Regions from separate parts of the Homo sapiens genome. Here region 2 is linked to region 1. The links are contacts of gene promoters, found by promoter capture Hi-C in blood cells and fetal thymus (Javierre and others, 2016). All regions are on one chromosome and are shown on one strand. Each heading gives the region's core, a stretch centred on a gene start or on the middle of the fragment in contact. The rest is flanking DNA. Distances are from core to core; before and after follow the strand shown.

Region 1 (7,494 bases), core at 2,426-4,925:
GCGGTGGCACGGTGAGTGAACGTGCTCAAGGCCCTGGAACTGTGCACTCGAAACGATGAGAAGGTAAATTATTATTTTTAAAAAATCCGGCCAGGCGCGGTGGCTCATGCCTGGAATCCCAGCACTTTGGGAGGCCGAGGCGGGTGGATCACGAGGTCAGGAGACGGAGACCATCCTGGCTAACATGGTGAAACCCCATCTCTACTAAAAATACAAAAATTAGCCGGGCGTGGTGGCGGGTGCCTGTAGTCCCAGCTACTCGGGAGGCTGAGGCAGGAGAATGGTGTGAACCTGGGAGGGGGAGCTTGCAGTGAGCCGAGATCGCACCACTGCAGTCCAGCCTGGGCGACAGAGCGAGACTCCGTCTCAAAAAAAAAAAAAAATATCCAACCTAGTTGGGCCGCTGCCCTGGGGAGTGAAGGGAGTCTGCCCAGCCCCCGCCCACACTCAGCAGCCTTCTTCCCACCCTCACCCATGCCGGCCAAATTCCTGAAACTGGGAGTTGGAGGTTGCAGTGAGCAAAGATCGTGCCACTGCACTGTAGCCTGGGTGACATCGAGAGACTGTCTTAAAAAAAAAAATTAGCTGGGCATGGTGGCATGGACCTGTAGTCCCAGCTACTCAGGAGGCTGAGGTGGGAGGATTGCTTGAGCCCTGGAGGCAGAGGCTGCAGTGAGTTGAGATTGTGCCACTGCACTCCAGCCTGGGTGACAGAGCGAGACCTTAAAATAAAAAAGAACAAAAGAGCTCAGACACCCCAGTCCTTCCGGGGCATCAGATGGCCTGAGACTCAAAGAGGACAATATGTGTGTTTTTCTTTTTTTTGAGACAGGGTCTCACTCTGGCCTAGGCTGGAGTGTGATCACGACTCACTGCAGCTTCCAACTCCTGGCCTCAAGCGATCCTCCGGCCTCGGCCTCCCAAAGCACTGGGATGACAGGCGTGAGCCACCGCGCCCGGTCCCTGTCCTCTGTTGCGATTTGGCAGGCAGCTCCAAGGATGTACGGAGGCACCCCTCCCTCCCCCAAACCCCCTCCCAGGATGGAGACCCCCACCCAGGTCTTGCAGGACAGTGGGTCCAGGCACGCCCCAACTCGCCCACCTGCCAGGCCTGTGATGAGAGGCTCTCTGGGTGGCCGCCGGGCGAGGCCCCCTGTTCAAGGTCAGGGGAACCCACTATTGGGACAGGTCATGGGGAGAGTTTGGAAGGAGCTTCTGTGGGGGCCGCAGAGACCCCAAGACTGCTTCCCTCACACGGCCAGTGGGTGGGGCCTGCTCAAGTCCACCCCAGCAGCCCCAGGCCTGGCGTTCAGAGGTGGTCTGGGACTGTCTGATGTCCTGCTGTCCAGGTCTGCACCAGCCGTGAGCCAGTGCACAGGACAGTGTTCTGAGGACAGCAGAACGTGCCGGCCACCCCAGCCCCCATCAACACTGGAGTGGCTCCTTGTCACCCAGCTGGGCCACAGCAGGTACAGGAGGCCCCAGAGCAGCTGGCATCAGCAAAGAAGCATAGAGCCCTCGAGGATGTGCCATGGGGTCATGGGGGGCTAGGCAGCCCCCTGCCTCCTGACACCGCCTGTTCCACCCTGTGGCCACAGCCCTGGGGAGCGGGGACAAGCAGAGCGGCCGGGTGTGGCTCATGTCCCCTAAGACAGCTCCCTTTGCAAGGCATCAGTCTCCCTGGCTGTGAAATGAGAGTGACCCCTCACAGCATCCCCCCTCCATGGCGCTACCCGACAGAGGAGACAAGTCACTGAGGTCATGGACAGATTCTGAAAAGGCAGAGGTGCGGCCCTCTACCCGGCAGCGTGGGGCATAGGGACGGCAGAGAACAGCTCTGGGGTGGGCCAGGCTGGAAGCTTAGCAGGTGGGCCGGGCACACCTGCACCCACTGGGAGGGGAGGACCACTGAAGGACCCAGCAGGCCAAGGAAGTCCCCTCTTCCTCCTGCCAGGCTGGGAGGCCCAGAGGGTGGCTGGAGAGGGGCCCTGAGTCCAGAGAAGCTGCTCCCAGGCTGTGTGGCCAGGGAGCAGAGGTTCAGAGGCAAGCCCAGCTCCCCTCCCCGTGGGCCACAGCAACCCCAGGCCAGGCCCTTTCCCACTGGCTTTCCTGGGGAGCGTTCCTGAACAGGAGGAAATAAAGGTCTGTGGGGAGAGAGTCTGGGGTGAGCCAGCCCAGGGGGCCACCCCCACCGCACCATTGCACGGGCCCTGTGGCCGTCCTGTCTCAGGAGACCATGGAAAGGCCGTGGGTCCTGCCTGTCTTTCCAGAAAAGCCTGTCGCTATCTCCCCTCTGGGACACCCCAGCTCCTGATGTGGCCTTTCCAGCCAAGCTGCAGCTGGACAGCAGCCACCACGACCTGGGGCTGGCAGAGACCCCTCCATCCCAGAGGGAATCAGGGACACCCCTTTTTCCGGGGTGTCCAGAGGCTGCATATTGAACCAGGGCCTTGGAGGCAAATGCAAGGTCTTCCCCCGCTCCCTCCCTGGGGGCCTCAGTCACCGCCGGTGAGTTTAGGTTTGTTCCGAGGGGCTTAGACTATTGGCCCCCAGATTCCTGGTGTGCCTGGGGTGGCGGGACTGCTCCGGCGGGGCCCTCTCTCCACAGCGCAGCCGGCCTGGGGCTGACAGCTCCCGAGCAGGGCAGGGCTGGTCTGGGCACTGGGCCCCGTTCACAGCCAATGACAGGACCAGTGGCCTGGAAGGGAGGGACTCCGCGCCTTTGGACTCCAGTGCCTTGAAATCCCACAGACCTGGGAACCGAGTCAGGGATGCCCGGCCGGGAGAACGAACGGGCGGGCGGCGGGTGGACCAGGACCTGCGTCCGGCCCCACCTCTCCCAGGCCTCACCTGTCCTGGCGCCCGCCCCGGAGCAGCCAGGTGCAGGGAGCCGGGGGCAGGGGCGCCGCTCACACCCAGGGACCCCCGGTGCGGGAAGGGCGTGAGGCATGACGTCACCGCGAGGTGGCCCCGGAGCCGGCGGACCCCACAGCCCAGCAGAGACCTCCGGCTGGCGGCCCGTTCCCTCCCTGCAGCCAGCCCCGATTTCCTCTTTCTGTGCGGAGCCCGAGCTTTCGCAACGCGGCGGGCGGTCCGCGGTGACCGTCAGACACGCAGCCCGGCGGGGGAGGGGAGGCGGCGGCAGGGGGGTTTCCGGGGGTCCTGGGGGGGGCCCCCCCGCTGCGCCCGGCCCGGGAAGACGTCCGGGTCCCCGCAGGTGCAGCCGGGCCCGGGCCCCATCCGAGCGCCGATCCGGCCCGGTGTTCAGCGCCGCCACCCCCGCGGCGTCCGCGCTCCCCCGCCCGGTCCCCGGGGCCCACCCAGGACCCGCCCGGCACCCCGCGCCCACCCCGGACCCACCCGGCCCCGCGCCCACCCGGCCCACACCTACCCGGGGCGCCGCAGTCCGCGCAGCGCGCGTTCCCCGGCCGCTGCAGCAGCTCCAGGACCGCCCTGCGCCGCTCCTTGGCCATGGCCGCGATGCGCCCGCGATGCCGATGCCGGGGCCGGGGCCGGGAGCGTCAGCCCGGCTCGCTAGGGCCCCGCGCAGGCCGCCCGCCGCCGCCGCCCCTGCGCCATCCCGGGCGGCCTCAGCCCGCGCGCCGGTTCCGCATTCCCGCCGCCCTCTGGGCTCCGCCGCCGCCGCTCGTGTCTCCGCCGCGGTCGCTGAGCGAGTGCCGGCGCGGGGCCCGGGGCGCACGCTGCGCTCTGGCCGGCAAGGCCCGCGGGCGGCCCCCAGCGGTGCAGGCGAGCGTGTGGCCTCCTCCCTCGGCCGCTCCGGCGCCCCCAGCCCGCGCGCCCCGGGGACCCGCTGGGAAATCGCCCGCCGCCCGCCCCCCATCCGCGCGCAGCGTCCCACCTGCCTGGGCGCGAGGCCGCCCCAAAACCTGGCCGGCCTGGGTGGGACCCTCGTGCCGCCGCGCGCGGTGGGACGGAGCCTGCACACCTACTGTGGGGGGCGCAGAGGGCACCTGCCGAGCCCCCCAAGACCATGGGCATGGGGGTGCTCGTGGAAGGCAGGTGTGCGTGTCCTGTGCTACGGACCAGGACCAGGGCGCTCACACCATCCCTGCCTGGGAGGGACGGCCAGCAGGTGACAAACGCCAGCGTCCCAGGGCACTGAGGCCACACAGGGCCCAGACGGAGCCTCCCCCTGAGACCCACCCAGCCGCCCACCACCCACAGATGGGACCCTCTGGGCACCCCTCCCACTCAGGCAGGCTGAGGGGCCCCGCCGGGACTTCACATGGGGGCTGACAGGTAACAAAAAACCTGGTTTTGATGTCACCTCTTCCCAGACTCGCGTGCCCTTCCTCTGCACACCCCAGCATCTTTTCAAATTCTTTCCATTTTCTTCTTGCAGGGTTAATGCAGTACACCCGGCTGAAAACAAACTGGAACATACCAGACTGAAAAAGGAAAGCCTCTCCCCACTGCCTTCCAGGCAACCACTGTTAACAAATTCCTCAGCACCTTCCAGAACGAACGTCTGAGGCCTGTAGCCTTTCATTTATTTATTCATTTATCGAGACAGGGTTTTGGCTAACGGCTGTAATCCCAGCACTTTGGGAGACCCTGGCGGGTGGATCACTTGAGCTCAGGAGTTTGAGACCAGCCTGGGCAACATGGTGAAACCCCGTCTCTACTAAATACAAAGAAATTAGCCAGGCGTGGTGGCGCATGCCTGCAATCCCAGCTACTTGGGAGGCTGAGGCAGGAGAATCGCATGAACCTGGCAGGCAGAGGTTGCAGCGAGCCGAGATTGCGCCATTGCACTCCAGCCTGGGCAACAAGAGTGAAACTCCGTTTCAAAAAAAAAAAAAAAAAAAAAAAACCAAACAAACAAACTCAAAAAAAGTTCAACTGAACCATGACTTGTTCACCCAGTCACTGGCATAGGGGCATTTAGAGCGTTTTGAATGCATCAGAATCATGGTCTACACAACCTCATCTTTGCAAGAGTTTTGTGTGGATTTGCTCTCAAAGTGGCATCGCTGGGGCAATGGTATGGGATGTGGAATGGCCTCCACTGAGGCTGCACTGACCAGAGTGCCACCAAAGGCACCTGTCCCCCTGCTCCAGCTGACGTGGAATCATGGAGCTGCTTAAGCTCTGTCTACCTGAAGCAGAACGCGGCAGCCCGTTTTGGTCTGTGTCTCTGGGATCTGTGCCCTGTGGCATCACGTGCTCTTTCCCTGTAACCGTTCACATGGGTCTTTCTCCTCCCTCAGACGGGAGGCTTTGGGGTGGGGACAGGTGGCATTTTCATCTCTGGGTCCCTGTGCCAGGCTCGGAATCCACCACACAGCATGAGCTTGGAGAATGTCGCCTAATAAAGACAGACGAACATTAATAGCAGCAGCTCAGCACTAGGTATTAGGAGAAATAGCCTGACTTGTATTTTCTATTTTCTTTTCTTTTCTTTTCTTTTTTTCCTTTTTTTTTTTTTTTTTTTGAGACAGGGTTTTGGTCTATCGCCCAGGCTGGAGTGCAGTGGCACGATCTTAGCTCACTGCAACCTCTGCTTCCTGGGGTCAGGTGATTCTCCTGCCTCAGCCTCCTGAGTAGCTGGGACCACAAATGGGTGCCACCATGCCCAGGTATATTTTTATTTTTTGGTAGAGACAGGGTTTCACCATGTTGCCCAGGCTGGTCTCGAACACCTGACTTCACGTGATCTGCCTGCCTTAGCCTCTGAAAGTGCTGGGATTACAGGCCTGAGCCACCACGCCTGGCTTGACGTGTATTTTCTTTTTTCTTTTTTTTTTTTTTGAGACAGAGTCTTGCTCTGTCACCCAGGCTGGAGTGCAGTGGTGCGATCTCGGCTCACTGCAAGCTCCGCCTCCCGGGTTCACACCATTCTCCTGCCTCAGCCTCCCCAGCAGCTGGGACACAGGTGCATGCCACCACGCCCGGCTAATTTTTTTGTATTTTTAGTAGAGACGGGGTTTCACCGTGTTAGCCAGGATGCTCTCGATCTCCTGACCTCGTGATCCGCCTGCCTAGGCCTCCCAAAGTGCTGGTATTATGGGCGTGAGCCACCGCGACCGGCCGACATGTATTTTCTTATTAAAGCCCCATTTTCAGCTGGGAAGACTGAGGCACGGGGAGGTTCGATCCCTTGCTGGAGGCCACACACCTCAGGACTGGAATATACATAAAACAATATAACAAAGCAACACACCCTAACATAGCCGTTACCCAAGGTCCCCAAAGACGGGGAGGCCATCATACAAGGCATAGAAAAGGCAGCAGGGAGGCCTCAGGGGAGCCGGTGCCCAACAGGCCAGAGCTTCTGGCACAAGCCAAGGCCATCTACTGCCTGCTGTTCCGGGGCCTCCTCCGTGGGGCAGCTCCAGCAGGCGAGTGTCTTGCCTTCTCTGTCCTTCCATCCCGCTAAGGGAACTGTGGCATTGCTCGGGGGGCAGGAGGGCGTGAGGATGAGACAGAGGTGGGTGAACCCCTCAGATCTAAGAGATGTCGGGGCTGAGGGGGATTCTTCCAAAGAGGAGGCTGCTCGGCCGAGATCCGCAAGTACCTGCCTGGACCCGAGAGCACAGCCGTCCTGAAATCCTGCTGCCCTGACTGGCTGTGGTCAGGGCTGGGCGGGGCAGTAGGGGAGCCCAGGACTCAGGAAGAATCCGGAAGGTAACAGCATAGCTCAGGGTGGGCCAGACCCAGACCAGTGCTGGTCAAAGGCTGTTCCGGCCAGCAGCGGCTGGCGAGGGGCCTGGACAGGCGGCGTGCCTGCTCCTGCTCATGCCCAGTGGCCTACAAGCTCTGCTGAGCCTCCTGCCCCTTGTCACTGACCCGCACGGCTGCACCAGGGACCCTGACACTCATTCCTCAAGCATCTCCCTAGTCCAGAGCCAGAGGCAGCCGCCTCCTGTGACCACTCGGCCACACAGCAGACCCTGGGCAGGGGGCTCCCGAGAGCAGGGCGAGCTCCTCCAGCGTCGCCTGAGCACGGGGCCTGCGCGTGGTAGGCCAGCAGGCGACTTTGATTGGAAGCTGGCTCCTCCCAGGCCTGCAGCTGCGGGGTGAGCCTCTCAGCACAGGCAGAAGGGGGCTCTCCCCAGGGAAGGGGCAAATGGACTGAGGCCGGGCTGGGCCCTGCTCTGCGACCATCTTGCCCAACAGTCAGCCGAGCTTGCTCAACCAGGAGCTGCCTCAGGGGAGGGGAGGTTGTGGAGGTTCACTTCCCTCTCCACCCCGCACAGGGGCCGGGGCTAATTCAGTCAAATTATCTGCGCTTGGACAGCGTCTGGCACGATGGCCGTGAGCTCAGTAGGCCGCCCTGCAGGCCAAGCAGGGGTCTTCAACATCCAGGCTCAGCGCAGGGGTGGGCAGCTCCTGGCTCTACCTGCCTCAGCTGTGGGGATGGGGGTCGTGATGTTGGGCCCCCATGTGGCCGGCCCCCTCCAGGGAAGCCCACTGGCTGTGGCCTCCACCCTGTCCTCTGCGACGTGCCTTTGGCCCTGCGCAGACCCTCCT
Region 2 (7,494 bases), core at 2,050-4,549, 630 kb before region 1:
GCATAGACCTCCCTCCCTCCAGCCGAAAGCATTCCTAGCTCCTGATCATCTTAAAAATAAAACCTGAATGCCTTGTGCAGGGGCAAGCTCCCTTCCATCCGGCCCTGAGTTCCAGCTCTGGCTCCACTGTTCAAGCGTCCGTCCCCCACCCATCCGTCTCTGTGTGCTTGGGCCAAGCTGCCCACAACCCCTCTTCCAAAGGAGCCGTGATTCCCTCACATTCGTCACACAGTCCTCTCCCCTGGCCGTGTGCTCACACAGTCCTCTCCCCTGGCCGTGTTCTCACATAGCCCAGGCATCCAATCAGGGTGCTCCTCATGCAGACTGCAGGGACAGACACATCCTCTCTCCTGGGCAGGGTGGGATATGCGATGTGAAGCCTGGCACTGCAGCAGCTATTTTGTGCCCATGAGGAAGAGCTGGCTTTGGAATAAGGCCAACTATGCAGAGGGCAGAGATGGAAAGAAATTGAGGCCGTGACAGCCTCGTTGAGCCGCTGGGTCAAGCCAAGCCTGAACGCCACCTGCCTCCAGACCTCCCGGCATCAGTCCGTTCCCTCTCAGTGAAGGCAGTTGATTTGTCTTTTCTGTTCCATGCAGCCCATTGCTTCCTAACTCATTTCTTCCCCTCATCTGCACCTGTAGCTGGTTTCTGTCCTTGTGCTGTTTTCCTGGATACCCCAGGCACTGCGTGGCCTGCTGTCTGTGTGTCCAGCCCACTCACTCCCTGTCCTTCCCACCAGCTAGCTGGCACTTATGGCCAAGTTTCCAGAGACCCACAGAGGTGGCCACTGCTCAGAAACAAGGCTTGTTCCTGGGGCGGTTGAGACAGAGATGGGCGCTGGTCCCCGTGTGAAGCTGTGGATACACCAGTGGGCAGCTGTCATGTTCAGACCCAGGACCCAGTACCCGGCGTGGCCGCCCTGGCTGTCGTCACGGCTTCTTTTAAGGGGGCAGAGCAGATTGGCACAGATGTCAGGGGCCCATGCATGTCCCTTGGCCTGGGGGACTTAGAAGTTTTCTCTGTATTTGGTTTCCCCTCTCTCAGCACTTTCTAATATACAGACTAAAACCCCAACTCACTGGGAGGCCAGGATATCAACGGGCTGGAGATTTATGAGGGAAGAGCCGGGTCCCACCAGCAGGCACTAATAGCTCCCTAATTCCTGTCATTAGTTAACGAGAGCCCCTAGGTTCTCTCTACACAGCAGCTCGAATGTAATTACCAGCTGGGAGTGCTGGGCACACAGGCCTTGTGTCCTGTGTTTTGCAAAATTCCCTGAAATGCACTTCATGATTCTGGAAGCTTCAGTCGGCTTGCAATTACAAGTAGCCCTTATTAAAAATCCATGCAGCCTCCCACATCAAACAAAATTAATCAGTAACAAGCTGTAAGGCTATTAGGTCATTTCCCAACACAGAGCAACTCAGGAGTGGCCCTATCTGATTGGCCCATGCACGGAGGCAGGAATTCTCCCATGTTTCTCTGAATGCCGTGAGCCTGACATGAGATGTTTGTCTTTGCTTGAATTACGTTTGGGTGTTATTCTGCTGAATCTATTCCCATTGGCCTGGCAGGCTCACTTTGCAGCGCACACACCACCAAGATGGTCATCTCATTTTGGCCAAGAGCATGAGGAAACATGTGGTCCCTGTTAGGGGAGGACCTCAGGTGTGGCCCTCCTCACCTCAGCCAGGGGGCCGAGCAGGAGCTGTGAGACAGGGTCCTGCCCAGTCTCCCCGCACCCACCTTGCCCTTTGCATGCAGCTCTGGCGCACAGGCAGCCAGGATGAGTCCTTTCAGCAGGCGCTTTGAATCTCATAGCCACTGTCCTTCCCGTCCACCTGGCCCATCCCGGCCCGCCAGGCACCTGCACTGTCGGGTCTCTGCCGGCCTCTATGCCTGGCTCTTCACTCTGCCCACTGGCTGCCCCATGGTGGCCACAGCGACATCTCCCAGCCCAGCCAGGGGCTCTTCTTATGAGAGACTGATAGGAAGGTGGGGTCCAGGCCCCTGCCCTGGCCTCCAGGGTGGGCTTGTGGCAACGGCAGAAACCATCTGCGTGACTTGTGGGGTCTGAAGTCACGGGAGGCGTCGGTGTCAGCCTGGTCTCTGGGAACAGGCACGTGCAACCCCGAGCTGTCCAGTTAGCCGTCTGGATGCTCCGAGGCCACCGTGCTGTGAAACTATCGCACGTGGAGAAGCCCTGAGACCATGGGGAGAGAGAGAGATGCCCGCCTGCCCGCCACGGCTCCCAGGCAGAGCCTTGGCTCATTCTAATCTCTCTGCCTGGACCTCTCCTCCCCGCTGTCTCCACGCGGCCGGCCCCTTTGCATTCTTCACCTCTCTGCTCAGATGCCACCTCCCCTTCATATCACCCTCTGTGAGGGAAACGCCGGCCCCATGGTCCCCCACAACTCCCTCCCTCAATGTCCCGTTCATTCCCTCTTGTGGGGTGATGCTGGTCACAATTCACGCTCCCATATTCACTTGCTGACTTGGGTATTGTCTGCTTCCCCAGCCAGAACATGGTTTCCCACACCTGCCTGGTTCTCTGTTGCTTGCCCGGGGTGCCTGGTACGCAGGACACGCTCAGGATCATGGCCCACTGCCCCGCTGCCCGGACAGGTGCGTAGAGGGATGGTGGCCATTCCCCTCCGCCTCTGTTTCTGTTGAAGACTCTCCTACCCAAGGTTTTACCCTTGAAGGAAATCTTTGCCACTTCGTTGGGCCAGTAAAATGTCATTTTTTTTTAAGTACTGGAGAGGAGGGTATGTTTTTCCTGTGTTCATCGTGGGTGTTCCTTTTTTCTCTTAGAAATTGCTTGGCCAGTCCTCTGCCCATGTTCCTGTCGGCCACAGTCCCCTTTCAACCCACCCTGCTGCCACCCGGAAGGCCTGAACGCCAGCGCCCGTGATGACCTCGGTGCCTGCCCCTCACCTGGGGCCGCCCACCTGTCCCCACCCAGGCTGTGTCTTTGTGTCTCTCTATGTCTTTTTCAATCAATTTTGAACAACTTAAAAGCGAGGATTGATTGAATCTTCTACTCTCTTGTCCCTGCAACACCCAACATGGCAGCTTCATTCCGACAATATTGTGAGGACGATATAGAGGCTCAGTAAGCACTTGCTATTTGCTCGGTTGGTTGGTTAACTTCGTTTAGTTTCCCGTAGCTCTGGCCTCAGTTAGCAAAGTTAATGACATTAAATAGCATATTTTAGCAGTAGCAAAAACAACAAACTTCTAGGAATAAGCCTAATAAGAAATATGCAGGACATCGGTCGGGCGTGGTGGCTCACACCTGTAGTCCCAGCACTTTGTGAGGTCGAGGCAGGCGGATCACCTGAGGTCAGGAGTTCAAGACCAACCTGGCCAACATGGTGAAACCCCATCTCTACTAAAAATACAAAAATCATCCGGGCGTGGTGGCATGCGCCTGTAATCCCAGCTACTGGGGAGACTGAGGCAGGAGAATCACTTGAATGAGGGAGGTGGAGGTTGCAGTGAGCCGAGGTTGTGCCACTGCACTCCAGCCTTGGAGACAGAGTGAGACTCCATCTAAAAAAAAAGAAAGAAAGAAAAGAAATATGCAAGACATACATTTAAAAATATTAAAATACTGCAAGCCAAAGTTAACAGATAGCCAACCAACTGAGGAAGAGGTATTAGCAACTCATACGGTAGACAAGATGCTACTTTCCCAAATACATTTAAAAAAACCCTCCTGAAAACAATGAGATAAAGACCAGCAAACTCATCAAAACATGAGTAAAGAACTTAAATGGGCAACTGGCTTTTTTTTTTTTTTTGACAGAGTCTCGCTCTGTCGCCCAGACTGGGGGGCAGTGGACCAATCTCGGCTCACTGCAAGCTCCACCTCCCGGGTTCACACCATTCTCCTGCCTCAGCCTCCCGAGTAGCTGGGACTACATGTTCCCGCCACCACGCCCGGCTAATATTTTGTATTTTTAGTAGAGACGGAGTTTCACCGTGTTAGCCAGGATGGTCTCAATCTCCCAACCTCGTGATCCACCCGTCTTGGCCTCCCAAAGTGCTGGGATTACAGGCGTGAGCCACAGCGCCGGCCGGCAACTGGCATTTTAACACATAGAAAGACACCCAACCACACTGGTAACAAGGAAACACAAATTGAAACTAAATGGAGGTTCCATTTTATGACGGGTCAGACTGGCAAAAAGCAAAATGCCAGGCAACCCTCAATGTTGACAGACTTGTGGGGAAGCAGGCGCTCTCGTACATAGCTGATGAAAGGACAAGTTAGCACAACGTTTATGGCCACGAAGTTGGCAACATCAATAAAAATGTAAATGCATCTGCCCTTTGGCCCGGCAATTCTGCTTATCCTATAGATACCATTGCGCACAGGTGAGGCCGTCTATGTGTGAAATTACTCACTGCAGCATTATTTACAATGGCCTAAAAGCCCGTTGATAAGAGGTTGTTATATAAATCATAATAGATCCATAAAGTGAAACACAACTGTAAGAAAAACGAGGAGGCTGGGCACAGTGGCTCACACCTGCAATCCCAGCACTTCGGGAGGCCTAGGCGGAACGCTGGGCAACATGACGAGACACCGTCTCTACAAAAATAAATTAACCGGGCATGGTGGTGTACACCTGTGCTCCCAGATACTCAAGAGGCTGAGGCGGCAGGATGGCTTCAGCCCAGGACGTTGAGGCTGCAGTGAGCTGTGACCGCATCACTGCACTCCAGCCTGGGCAAAAGAGAAAGACCCTGTCAAAAAACAAAAAAATAAAAAGGAGTCCACTTTTGGCTTCCATCAACCAGGTTGGAGAAAACAAATGACCACATGTGTCTCAATGTGTCAGAGAGTTACCAAGGCAGCCAGGACCTGAAGGCCCAAGACATTGTGGGGGAGGGAAACGCGTTGAGGTGACCCGAACTTCTGCACCCTTTGGGGCAACCGCAAACTCATAACTGGCATGAGCAGAGATGCTGAGAAGCTGAGCAGGGAGGTCTGCTGAGAATCCGAGAAGCTCAGAGGAGCTTTCAACACTGTCGTGCCAGCAGGAAGACGAGAATCAGAGTGCAGGACTGCTCACACAGCCAGGGCTTGGAGAGACAAGATCCCGGGGAGAGGAAAGGATCCCAACAGTCCAGGGTGTCTGTTTGCAAGCAGCACAGGGTGAGCGCAGAGGGGCTGAGCAGAGGCTGCTAGGAATCTAAGCAGAACTGCGGGAGCCCTGCAGTGCCGGAGAGGGAAAGACGGGCTCAGACCTGTCATGCCAGAGGATCCCTCGGAAGCACCTGAAGCTTTCATATGGACCCCTGAAGGACAACCTCTCCTCTCAACTCTAGATTTAAATCCAAGAGGTTTCTTGAGCTTGAAGTCCAGCAGGCATCTCAGCCAGGACATGCTCAGAACAAACTCCCCATTGTCCTCCCTGCACTGCCCTTCCCCACTCCCCACTGGGTCAGCGTGGCCTCATCCCTCTAGCTAGTTAGGCGAGACCCTGGGCTCAGCCCAGACTCTCCTTTCCTCTCATCCCCACGCTGAATCTGTCAGCAACTCTTGTTGGCTTCACCTTCAAAACATACCTGGAATCAGACCCCTTCTCCCCACTTCAGCACCATCCTTTGGCCCAAGCAACCATGTCCTCTCCCCCGTCCCCCGGCACTAGTACCCAAGCCACCATTTCCTTCTTTCTGCATTGGTATAATAGCTGTCCGGCTGGTATCTCAACATCCACTTGGTCCCGAGAGACACACCACCTGCAAAAGTAAAATCATTGTGCTGACACTGACAGCAAAGCCCAAAACCCTTAGAGTGACCCACAGGATCCAACCTTAGAGTGACCCACAAGATCCTATATTATATCCTCTCTCAACTGTTTTTAATGAAACTTTTATTTTAGATTTTATGTTTAGATTTTTTTTTTTTTTTGAGACGAAATTTCACTCTTGTCACCCAGGCTGGAGTGCAATGGCTCAATCTAGGCTCACTGCAACCTCCACCTCCTAGGTTCAAGCAATTCTCCTGCCTCAGCCTCCCGAGTAGCTGGGATTACAGGTGCCTGCCACCATGCCCAACTAATTTTTTTTGTATTTTTAGTAGAGACGGGGTTTCACCATCTTGGCCAGGCTGGTCTTGAACTCTTGACCTCAAGTGATCCACCGGATTTTATGTTTAGATTTACAGCAAACTTGTGGAGATAGCACAGACAGTTAGGTCTACCCTGCACCTGGCTTCCTCCATTCCTGGCATCCTACCCGAGGACAGGGCACTCGTCACATTAAGGATGCAATACTGGCACACCAGCATTAACTAAACTAGACCTTTATTTGGATTTCATTACTTTTTCCCCACTGGGTTCCTTGCGATTTCCAAACCTGCCTGTGACTGAACTATTGGTTAATGAAACTATTTATTTTTTAAAAGTATTTCTTAATCCCACCTGGCCCAGGAGTGGACACAAACCCGTGAGTCAGGTTCCGGGACTCACAGGTCCCCATCTGAGACACATGACGTAGAGAGTGCCGGGGAGGTCAGGCCGCTGCCGCTGTGTGTTTCAGGGTTGGGGGCTGCCCTCCGGGGTGCCAGGAGCTCCTGTGTGTACACTGGGCAGGACAGAGGGCGGGTGGTGAGGTGCTGTGCCTGGGAGCTTGTCCAGGCCCGATGGCTTTTCTGCAGGCTGGCTGAGGAGCTAATTATCGAGGCGGCGGACCGAGGGTGTTTGCCTCTTGACCTTTTGTGATGCCGCCTGTCGAAGCACGCTTGGCCTCTTCCCAGGGGAAATGCTATCCGAAGTGCGAAGTTGCCCACCGCTGGGGTAAGGGGAGAGGGCGCCGCAATCACCCAGCCCTGACCTGGAATGATCATTTCCTGGTGTGGTGTGGCCGTCCCGTGGATGCTGACAGCCCCAGGGGCAGGGGTGAGCGGGCTGGGGGCTCTGCCGGCAGGTGCCAGGGCAGGGGTGGGCGGGCTGGGCCCTCCCACCGGGCGCCGGGGTCTCCCTGGTCCACACACCCTCGCCTAGCCTCAGACCGCCAGGGCTGGAACTGTGCAGGCTGCGGACTCCAACAAGAACACCCAGTGGAGGGCCTGGGGAGAGGCTTGGAGGCGCTGAACCCAGTCCCGTGCCCCCACCCCAGGAGAGGGCTCCTTCGTCTCCACGTGGCCTCGGGCCCTGCAGGTCCCCCGAGGGCGCAGCCGCCAGCAGGGGGCGCCTTTCTCTAACCTCCCGGGGAAGCGCAGGTGCCGCCCGCACCTCAGACAGCGCTGCCGCCCGCGCCCGCCCTGCGCCGTTCCGTTTGCTCCGGTGTCCCCCAGCTTGGGAGCGGGGCCCCCCAGCCCTGGTTTGAGGCATGACGTTGGTAGGAAGAGCCCCTTCCGTGGAGCGCGGGGCCCGCCGGGGAGGCGGCCCTGGAGCCCCCTCCTCCCACCCGCCCAGGATTGACAGTCCCTGCCTCGGGCGCCCTCTGACCCCCGCGCTCACCGAGAGAGGACGA

What was found. Contacts are between HindIII fragments. The CHiCAGO score rates a contact against its expected background, and 5 or more counts as called.
Region 2: a contact is called between a fragment that was not itself captured here and the fragment with the promoter of ADAP1 in region 1, in 1 of 17 cell types (naive B cells). The highest score is 5.7, in naive B cells.

What each region holds. Positions count from the first base shown.
Region 1 is chr7:951,005-958,498 of GRCh38, forward strand. It overlaps ADAP1 (ArfGAP with dual PH domains 1), which reads right to left and starts at 3,676. Exons shown (of 11, transcript NM_006869.4): 1 at 3,392-3,676. The coding sequence starts at 3,473. LOC124901569 (a long non-coding RNA gene) reads left to right here and starts at 3,850. Exons shown (of 2, transcript XR_007060178.1): 1 at 3,850-4,260; 2 at 4,364-4,486. RefSeq lists enhancers at 2,126-2,737, 3,960-4,569 and silencers at 2,863-3,072, 3,363-3,852, 3,872-4,027, 3,883-3,982, 7,224-7,283. The HindIII fragment of the contact is 7,508 bases long and covers 1,858-7,494 here.
Region 2 is chr7:325,607-333,100 of GRCh38, forward strand. LOC105375118 (a long non-coding RNA gene) reads right to left here. Exons shown (of 3, transcript XR_926965.4): 1 at 7,482-7,494; 2 at 6,441-6,603; 3 at 4,021-5,757. Among named protein-coding and RNA genes, the nearest start is that of FOXL3-OT1, 38 kb to the left of the region's middle. RefSeq lists a silencer at 7,130-7,319. The HindIII fragment of the contact is 3,993 bases long and covers 1,304-5,296 here.